2 separate regions of the Homo sapiens genome follow, and region 2 is linked to region 1. Evidence: promoter capture Hi-C in 16 types of primary human blood cells and fetal thymus (Javierre and others, 2016). All regions are on one chromosome and are shown on one strand. Each heading gives the region's core, a stretch centred on a gene start or on the middle of the fragment in contact. The rest is flanking DNA. Distances are from core to core; before and after follow the strand shown.

What was found. The method cuts DNA at HindIII sites, captures the fragments that hold promoters and counts their contacts. A CHiCAGO score of 5 or more calls a contact.
Region 2: a contact is called between a fragment that was not itself captured here and the fragment with the promoter of TPPP2 in region 1, in 2 of 17 cell types (M2 macrophages and monocytes). The highest score is 7.4, in M2 macrophages.

What each region holds. Positions count from the first base shown.
Region 1 is chr14:21,028,395-21,033,642 of GRCh38, reverse strand. TPPP2 (tubulin polymerization promoting protein family member 2) reads right to left here and starts at 3,426. Exons shown (of 4, transcript NM_173846.5): 1 at 3,339-3,426; 2 at 2,889-3,130; 3 at 2,478-2,631; 4 at 828-1,751. The coding sequence starts at 3,061. The coding sequence ends at 1,566. It overlaps RNASE13 (ribonuclease A family member 13 (inactive)), which reads left to right. Exons shown (of 2, transcript NM_001012264.4): 2 at 1-825. It also overlaps a transcript of NDRG2 not described here. The HindIII fragment of the contact is 5,962 bases long and covers 1-3,620 here.
Region 2 is chr14:20,488,416-20,493,762 of GRCh38, reverse strand. No RefSeq gene overlaps it. Among named protein-coding and RNA genes, the nearest start is that of RNASE10, 14 kb to the left of the region's middle. RefSeq lists an enhancer at 1,993-2,092. The HindIII fragment of the contact is 5,077 bases long and covers 1,163-5,347 here.

The sequences.
Region 1 (5,248 bases), core at 2,177-4,676:
TCTTCTAGGTTCTTTCCAGCTTGTTTACCCCCTCTTCGCCCCCACCTCCTCATCATCCTTCCTCTCCCAGAGACAGTAAAACCCACCCAAGAAGTTGACTGTGTCCAGTTGGCAGTGACTGTCCACCCACTGGGCCAGATCCTAAGTCCTGGATGGAGGCCCAGGGCCTCAGCTCACACCATGGCAACAGGCACCAGCTCCGAGTCTCACCTCCCCATCCCCACCAGCCTTCTCATGTCAGCCTCCCCCAGTTCCCTTATAATTCCCTCCACTCACCCACCTACTCAGGGGATATGGCTAGCTATAGGAACCTCCCTGAGGCCCTCAGACTCATGTTAGCCTCACTTCCCCACAACCCCCAGTTTCCAGCCTGCTTCTCTCTGTGAAATCATGGTTTCTCCCTTCATATAACTGTCCTCTCCTGCTTCCTCTTACCATGGAGCCTAGGACTGTCTCCCCCACACTCCCAACAACCGTAGTCACCCTGCCTTCCTTTTTCCAACCTCTTTTTCTTCCAGTCTTCTTACCTTGGCTCACTGGCATTTCAAGGTATCTTCTCTCACCCATTCCCCAGAGGTTCCTGCTTCCCTTCTCTTCCAGAAGCTCCTCCCAAATCCCCCAGACTCCAGAGTCTGCCCCTGACCAGGCAGCGAATGAGGCAGGCCCGGCTCTAATCGAACATAAATTTCTAAAACCACATCTGAGTATGTAAGATGTAACCATTGGGGGAAACTGGGTGAAGGGCACACGAGCCCCCTCTGTACCATTTTTTGTAACTTCCTGTCAACCCATAATCAATTCAAAATAAAAAGTTAATAACACACATCTGACTCTGTTGTGATTTAATTGCTTTTTCTTCAGTGCACCAGAACTCCTGCTCTTGGAATCCTGGCAGCCTGCCTCATCTGGCCATCTTCCTGAGCTACCCTTAGCAGTCAGTAAGCTCTTCTGTCCCATGTGCCCCATGATGGAGGTGATGTGGGGTAAAACTTAGTTCTGGGCTGGGTGTTGAAAATAGACTCTCCCCTTACCCCAGCTCTGGAACAAATTTGTAATAGAAGTCAGGCAACCTTAGCTGGCTTCTACTCCTCCACCCAAAAAACCTGAATTGCAACAGATGAGGAAGGTGGAGGGACAGGGAAGGATCTAATATGTGATATAGTCATAGTCCATCACGTGAGGAATTGCTACACCCTTTTGAGGGGTGGGGGTGGAGAGGTGGATATCAGTAATGTGTGAACACAAGTAGTAGATACTTTTACCTCCACATCTGGTTCATCTCTTTACTCCAAATATATTCTTCCATCCTGTTCTTGGAAGCAGCTGTTGAGGAGGAATGCTAACTGATGGCTGGTAGGCATAAGGCTAAGCAGAGCGAAGGGTGTGTGGTGGAGAACCCACCCTCCTGTGCTGCCTCTTCTCCCTCTCTCTACACTAGTAGGCTCATCTGTCCCTCACAGACAGAGATTTTGGCTGCTGCACACACAGATGTTTATTGTTTTCCAAGCTCCCTGGTGTTAAACATGCAGGGTCAGGGGGCTAGCAGGCTGAGATGAAGCTCCTCTCTACTTGGTCTTCTTATCGTAGGTGCCAGAACCCTTGTAACCACTCACATAGCCTGTGTTGTCAGTCATCTCTTCCCGTCCCGCAATGCCCTTGCCCTTGCCACTCTCATCAAAGCGCTCCTTGTGGGTGCCGGTGTACTTGCTGGTGTCTGTCAAACGGTCCACTGCACCCACTGTTGTTGCTTTCTGCAAGCCAGGGATGGATTTGAGCTCTCTTCCTTTCCTTACGCTGTCATATCCCTTCCCCAAAGATGGCCCGAGATACTTAGAACAAGTGCTTGGAGCTCTTGCTCTGCCACTGGCATGGGGTGCTGCTTTCTTAGGGCCCAGATACAGCTGTGGGCAGGTACTCTGGTAAGAGCCGTTCACTCATGGGGGAGGAGGAGTGTGGTGTGGGAATGAGTGTGGCGTGTGCAGAGGGAGGGTAGGTTTTTTGTTTCCAGAGGAGTTATTCTGACTAGGCTGCTGCCTGAGGACTTCACTCCCACTCCCCGACTCAATATCCACTGTAGAAAGAGCTTTTAGTTCAGACAGGACAATTAAAAAAGGGAGTAGGTGAGAGGCAGGAGGCCTGAGATTAAACCCTAAATAAGAATTGGAAGAGGAGTGGGCATCAGGTACCAAATTCTCTACACTAATGTCCTCCAAAAGCTACCAAGCCCTAATTGCCTGGCTCAGATACTAGACACTTGGAAATTAGTCTAAATCTACTATTAAAATAGCCATGGACCTTGGGCAAGTCACTTCCCTTCTCTGGGCCACATTTTCCTGACTTCTGGAATGTCTAGATGATCTCTAAAGTCTGTTTCGGCCCTGTCTCTACAGTCACACAGTTGGCAGGGTTAGGGAGGGTAGACTGGAACAATGGGGATTTAGGGAAGTAGGGTCAAGGGGATGAAGGCTGTCACTCACAGTAGCGCCAGTGGTGGCTGGGTCTTTGCCCTCCATGAGTCCATAAATGTTCTCCAGGACTTCATCTGGACTCTTCCCTTTGAAGCGCTTCTGGCCCAGTTCCTTCACTGCCTCTTTGAACTGTTGAAACGTGATGGTTCGGGCGTTCTTGGCCCTGGTCAGTTAGACAGAAATCCAGAAACTTTGGAGCATGAATGCATTACCTTCCAAGGTCCAACTCTTGCCTCACTCAGATTTGGCCTCTTTTGTCCTATCAATCAGTGAGTGTCTCGAAGACAAAGGATAGCACAGCGCCAGGTACCCTGTGGTGCTTGGTAGGCCCACTGCAAATGTTCCACCACGTGAACCCTTCCGTGGCCAACTACCTCGCAGGTTCTTCTCACCCCCACCTCCATATTTTTGGCTCCTCACTTGACTTTGCTGAACACGATGTCCACGTCCGTGGAGGTGACTGTCTTGCCATCCATGATGCCACAGTCTTTGCACAGCTTGGAGAAGTTCTTGTTGTTCATTTCAGTGCCACTGCTTGATGATTCTCCAAACGCAGCAAACCGATGGAATGTTTTTTCTGCCTCTGATGCCATGGTCAGCTAGAGGTCGGGGAGGGCAGTCGTGGGAGACACTTGGGGGTGAAGGAGAAGGGGGAGGGAGGACTGTGGAGTAATGAGGATGAGTGTTATGGTAAAATCAGTCAGCAACAGGAACAGCTCCCCTCTTCCCTGTTGCTCTCTCCTTTCTCCCTCCCAGCTCCCATTGCACCTACGCAACTACAGCATGAGTCTCCCATTCCCAGCATTGGAGATACCAGTGTGGATCCTACCTACTGAATGATCCTCTCTTTCCCCTACCTCTTTTATGTACCTTAGAGTACCCGGATGGTGGTCTGACCCTTCCCGGCCTTTGTATTTAAGTGTGTGCAGATATGTGGGAGCCGGTTGGCTGTGGCAATGAGGAGACAGAGGGAGGAGAGGGAAGATTCTATGACCTCAGCAGTGGTTATGTGACATCACTTCTGGCCCCAGCTACAGCCATTGCCTTCAAAGGAGGGGGCTTTTGGTCTCCCTACCTTGCATGCCGAATTGAGCAAACTGCCAACTTTCTGACCTTTTCAGATGATCACATTTCCATCATTTCAGCCAAGCTTACCCATCCTCTGGGTCCTAGTCAAATTGCCTTATGCTCTGCCCCACAACAGAAGCTGAGGCGAGCCCAGGGAAGGTGTTGTAGTCTGTTTGGGCTGCTAGAACAAAATATCAAACTGGGTGGCTTATAAACAACAGACATTTATTTCTCAGAGCTCTGAAGGCTGAGAAGTCTAAGATCAAGGTGCTGGCAGATTCAGTGTTTGGTGAGGGCTGCTTTCCGGTCCATAGATGGCACCTTCTTGCTGTGTCCTCACATGGTAGAAGGGGTGAATGAGTTCCCTTGGGCCTATTTATAAGGGTATGAATCCCATTCAGAAAGGCTCTGCCCTCATAAAACTTAATCACCCCCCAAAATGCCCCATCTCCTAATACCATGACTTTGGGAGTTAGGATTTTATTTTATTTATTTGCGTATTTATTTTGAGATGGAGTCTCGCTGTCTGTTGCCCAGGCTGAAATGCAGTGGCATGATCCTGGGGCACTGCAACCTCCAGTCCCAGGATTCAAGCGACTCTCATGCCTCAGCCTCCCCAGTAGCTGGGATTAGCCCAGCCACTATGCCTGGCTAATTTTTGCATTTTTAGTAGAGACGGGGTTTTGCCATGTTGGCCAGGCTGGTTTCGAACTCCTGACCTCAAGTGATCCACCTGCCTCAGCCTCCCAAAGTGCTGGGATTACAGGTGTGACCCACTGCGTCCAGCCGGGAGTTAGGATTTTAATATATGAATCTGTGGACAACATAAACATTCAGACCACAGCAGTTAATGAAAACGGATTAATGAAAACAGGCTGTCATGTTTTCTAGTCTCCAGGCTCAAGTGTAGCATGGAGAATCCCACTGGCTTTAAAAGGCCAGTCGCAATAGAAACATTAAATAGCTTCCAGTGTTGGGCCCAGCAAGCCTTGGAGTATAACAGATGTGGACAGGTCAGGATAAAACTGGGATAGACTGAGGGTGAGGCTCAGATTCTGAAAATCTTCAGATAAGTTTCTATGCAGGTCAAAGATGTTCCTCAGGGTTTTCTCTCTTCGGCCTTTTCTCTGGCCAGAAGCACTACAGATAGATGAACCTCACGGATCCTAAAACAGAGCAACGAGACTGGTGACTTTCCTCCTTTTCCCATCTAATAATGCCACCACTTTCTATTTTTTTTCTTTGTCTTACAAATCTATGCCTTTCTTTCCATTCCTATTGCTTCCACCCTTATTCAAGTTCTTATCATCTCATAGTTGGATGACTACTCTGGTTTCTAAATGATCTCTTTTCTAAATCTAATTCTTCACTCCCACCCACCCATAATCCATCTCTATTACCTCCTCCCCATCAGATTAATTTTCACAAAACAGTATTTTTTATTACTCCTGCTCAAGAATATTCTGTGGCTCAAGATATACTATAGCTTCTCATTGCTAAATCTTTTTGCTTAGCATTCAAGGACCTATACAACTAACTAGGCCCCAATCTACCCTACCAAACATCACCCACCTCTCATCAACATTATTCTTGGGCAGGGCACAGTGGCTCATGCCTATAATTCCAGCACTTTGGGAGGCCAACAAAGTGAGACCTTGTCTCTAGATAAATAAATAATAATAAAAAAATTAGTTGGGAGTGGTGGCATGCAC
Region 2 (5,347 bases), core at 2,452-4,951, 540 kb after region 1:
CTGTTGGAAGTCAGCCTCACCCCACACACTGGCCTTTTCCTGATCCCTTTCTGGTCTGAGAATGGGCAGTGGCCAGATACTGCCATGAGTAGATGGGAGTGAAAATACTTAGAGATGAAGAGGAGGCAGGAGAAGGGGAGCTGAAATTTTCAAACAATTGTCACTGTGTGATATTTCAACTTCAGATAGTGGCCAAATAAGTTTCAGTGGGAACTGCGTTCAATCCAAATGACAAAACCACTAAAGTCTGAAGAAGATGTACCAGCTAAACTGGTAGCTTCTAATCTTTTGATCATCATGGGTTCTTTTTTCTTTCCTTTTTTTAAATAAAATTTTAAAAATTCCTTCCCAGGTAGCTGGGAGTACAGGTGGGCACCACCATATCCAGCTAATGTTTTAATTTTTTGTAGAGATGTAGAGATGGGGTTGCCCAACCTATTAGACCCTTTTTATTATTCCCAGCCCCCATAGGTCCCTATAAATATTTGTTAAGATATAGTTGTAACTTAGCAAATGTATCTGGGGGACCATGTCCAAAAAAACCAGATGGACACCCAGAAAGGGTTTCAGGAGGTGGAGGCTGCACAATTATCCAAGATACATTGGATCCTATCCACAACTTACAGGTGCAAACTTGATCTTATCTGAGTTTTTCAGTTTCTTTTTTTTTGAGATGGAGTCTCACTCTTGTCGCCCAGGCTGGAGTGCAGTGGCGTGATCTCGGCTCACTGCAACCACCACCTCCCGAGTTCAAGCTTCTCCTGCCTCAGCCTCCCAAGTAGCTGGGATTACAGGCACCCGCCACCACACCTGGCTAATTTTTGTATTTTTAGTAGACATGGGGTTTCACCATTTTGGCCAGGGTCATCTTGAACTCCTGACCTCAGGTGATCTGCCTGCCTCAGCCTCCCAAAGTGCTGGGATTACAGGCATGAACCACTGTGTCCAGCGCATTTTTCAGTTTCATGCGAGTTACTCACACCAACCAATCCCCAGTTAAAACTATGAACAAGATCTACATTGAAAAATATGTGCAGTGAAAATAAACCTGCCCCATACATTCTCTCCCTGACTCAAGTGGGAGACCAAACCTCAAAGAGATGATTGCTTGGTGAGCATCAGTGGTCAGCAGCGTCACAGTTCCTTCGGGCCAGGATAAGCTTGGGAAAATGTTTCTGACTTGAAATTAAGAAGTGAGCTAGTGTGTTACTCCTGGACAATGATGGTTTAGTAGAAAGCAATTCTCAAAATTTAGAATTTCCCTTTCCAATTTCCAAACTCTCCTATCTCCTTCTTAAAATACATTAGCATGTTTGTTGATTTGTATTCTTTTATACTCCACCTCATTCCAAGATAGGATTAAAGTCAGCTTGCAAAACTGTCTGCAATAAATAATCACACAAATCAAATTTAGGTGAGAGAAAAGAGGCAGGATACAACTTGATTGATTATGCCATCACTGTATCGAGGCTAAAATCATTATGCTTCCTGAAGCCAGCATTTTGGTCCCCAGAGCTGAAGTGTGTGAGTCCTTAGCCCTAGGTGATAGATTAGAAGTTTGGATGGTTTAATTCTACAAATGGTGACTACTATTTACCAAATGCTGATTTGACCTGATGTAATTCTCAGGTGGTACTAATAATTTCAAGTGTTGAAGAAATTTTGCCATATAATATTTATACCTATGAATCACCACTTTATTTTCCCATTTGTACTAATAAAAATAAATAAATAAATGAAACTTACCAGAAAAGGTTTTTAGTAAGAATGAGATGACCACAATGGTTTGAATAGTTCAAACAAACTTAGTTTTAGTTAGCATGTTGTAGCTTTATTCGGAGTAAATGTGTGGTTTCCAGTAAGATGCCTGACATGTTAAAATTAGCTCACAGACTTTTTGACGCGTAGAAATAATCTTGAAAGGACAGCCAACAACCATAACGAGAAACAAAACAGAAACCACCTAAGTCAAGAAGGTAGACACAAATGCCCCTCAATTTGCAAATAGATATCTCCCCTGCACCAAGAATCACCCCATGGGAGGAGCAACTAAGTTAAAATTTCAGGATGAAAGGGTTTGCTTTCTCTTCATGAAACTGTGTCTAGTACTCTGGTCAGGTAATGATGATGATCAAGGTAATATTAGTGATCCAAGGAGCAGAGGCTTTTTCCATGCCAAGCCCATATACCCTGATAGGGCCACCAGGTGGACAAGCCAGTCCATCTGCACGATGCTCCTAAAGGGCGGGTCACAGAGCCAAAGAAAGGAATGACTCGCCAGAAGAAACTCTGCCTTTTCTGAACTTTTTTTTTTTTTTTTGAGACAGAGTCTCACTCTGTTGCCAGGATGGAGGGCAGTGGCGCGATCTCGGCTCACTGCAACCTCTGCCTCTTGGGTTCAAGCCATTCTTCCATTCTTCTGCCTCAACCTCCTTAGTAGCTGGGACTACAGGCATGTGCCACCATGCCCTGCTAATTTTTTTGTATTTTAGTGGAGACAGGGTTTCGCCATGTCAGCCAGGATGGTCTCGATCTCCTGACCTCATGATCCCCCCGCCTTGGCCGCCCAAAGCGCTGGGATTACAGACGTGAGCCACCATGCCTGGCCAGCACTATTTTGAGTTCACAGACTAAGTTCACTTGGGATGGCAGATACTGGCTGATATGGTTTGGTCGTGGTAGTGAATAAGTCTCACGAGATCTGATGGTTTTATCAGGGGTTTCCACTTTTGCATCTTCCTCATTCCCTCTTGCCTCCTCCAAGTAAGAAGTGCCTTTCACCCTCTGCCATGATTGTGAGACCTCCCCAGCCATGTGGAACTGTAAGTCAAATTAAACCACCTTTTCTTCCCAGTCTCTGATATGTCTTTATCAGCAACATGAAAACGGACTAATACACTGGCACAGAAGTTAGCACAGAAGAGTTGTCCGTTAAGGTTTGGTGAAAGAGACAGGAAAGGAGAGGAAAGGGAAGGAAGGAAATAGGGAAGAAGGGAGGGAGGGAGCCCTGAGCAATGCGTGGAGGTCAGCAGTTAAGATTAGCTCAGCAGGAAGGAAGCGTCCTGGGCTTCCGTGAGAGGTGACCTCTGACAGGCTTCCAGGTTCCTGTGCTCTTTGAGAGAGTCTTTCTTATCCCCTCACCCAGTATACAGGTACTTTGGCCTGGCCTGGCTGGCCAGATATGCAGTCGAGGTTTTACCTTCAAAGATGACAGCTAGAGAAATAAGAAAAGGGAAAGCATTCAGAATCCATTATAAGACGTACTGATAAGTAACACACATGCAGATCTTATGAATTAATGTGGATCTTCATAGGTAAGATCTTCATAATGGCAATGCTATTATGTAAGAGAATGTCCTTATTCTTAGAGATGCGTGCCAATATATTCAAAAATGGACTGATAGGCAAATTGTCTGCAGCAATTTACTTTCAAATGGCTCAGGAGAAAACAAATGTATGTAGCAGATTATTGACTATTGATGGTTTAGGTGAGAGGTACACTAGTGTTCATTACATGATCCTTTCTACTTTTCCGTAAACTTAACGATATTCCAAGTAAAAAGTTCAGGACAAATGGGCATTAGAAATTTTCTCTAAAATGTATAAAATCCATAGTAAGCACACCTAGCTGGTAACAGCGCTTGCTTATCTTGGCTGAGAGGATAAGGGGTTCTTCCTTGCTTTTTGGTGTGTGTGTGTGTGTGTGTGTGTATGTGTGTGTTTAAGGCCACAGCTAGGACCCTTCTTTCTGCCCCTCTGGCCTCTTTCACTGCACCAAACCACCTGCTCCTGGGCCCCAGCAAAGCAATCCCCCTATGAACAACATTTCTCAACAAGTGTTTCTGTGCCTGTTAGTAGCCCCACACGCTTCTTCCCCACAAACCCTTTCCTCATACACCATTGCCCACACAAAACACACCCCTTTCAAACTGCTGTTCTGGAACAAATGGCTTTCTTCTCTACTGAGTGCACCTCTGCCCAAGGCTTCCACCCACAAACGATTCTTTCTCTAAAGTTCCTGTGTAACCCTACCCCACCCATCCTCTCTGAATCATTGCCTCAATCCCCTGAGGTCTATCTTGCTGCAAATTGAATTCCTGCTGGTGTTGAGCCTGAAAATTTCTCAGTTTGCTAAGCTAAAGAGTTGCCCTTCCGTGATGGATGAAGCAGTGAATTGCTTCCACTTTTGTCTAGGATCGGGCACAGACCTTACTCTTTCTGCCCTAGCACCCCAGCTCCTCAGGTCCCACTTCAGTGGCATCAAGCAGAAGTGGACATGCATGGATAGATATATAATTATTGAAACATGAAAGCACAGTGTAACATCCCACCCTCCTTCTGTAGAACTAGAGTGTTGTGGAACTATAGTTGTTGCTATTCAGGTTTTTGCAGATAAAATATCTTGAAAAGAATTTTAGAGGTCATAAGGTCAACTATTTCTCTCTACAGCTTTGTCAAATATTCCTCTAGCCCCTATTTCAACATTTCAGGAATGTAACGTAACAATGTCTTTTTTGTAGAGCTCTTTTTCTAATATTGAGTGGGCTCTCCTGTCCTAGTCAACTCTCCAAAGTTGCACAGAGTAAATTTGATTCTTCTATATAAATAAGTTTAAAAATAATATAAGGCCAGGTACGTTGGCTCATGCCTGTAATCCCAATACTTTAGGAGGCCGAGGTGCTAGGATCACTTGAGGCCAGGAATTCGAGACCAGCCTGGGCAACATAGCAAGACTTTGTTTCTACAAAAAAAATTTTTTTTAATCAGCTGGGTGTGGTGATATGTGCCTGTAGTCCCAGCTACTCAGGAGTTTGAGGCAAGAGGATTGCTTGAGCCTTGGAGTTCAAGGATGCAGAGAGCTATGATCATACTAGTGCATTCCACAGAGCCTGGGTAACAGATCAAGATTCTATCTCTTAAAAAAATCATAATAATAATATTAATAGAAGACAGTTCTTCACTACCTCCTTTCATCTTCTGTTTACCACCAAACTTAACTACTCTCTGGCTTTTCATTCAACCTAAACGTGATGCCTTTTTACACATTCTCCATCCCCATCTCTTTATGTAGATCTAATGCTATGGTGACAAAAGTTCTGAGCCTGAAGGAATAGCTTAGCTATTCCTTTGCTGTGTGGTATTGGAAAAGTCAGATAACCTTTCTCTAAGCCTTTTTAAATCAGAAAAATGAAAATGAGAAAAATATCAATGATACTTGCTCAAGGGTCTCAGTAATTATCACAACTAAAAAGGACCAAAAAATGTAAAATATTTTGTAAACTATAAAGCACTATGTACATATTACCTGCTGTGAATATTCACATTAAAGGTCCAATCTCAGCATGAG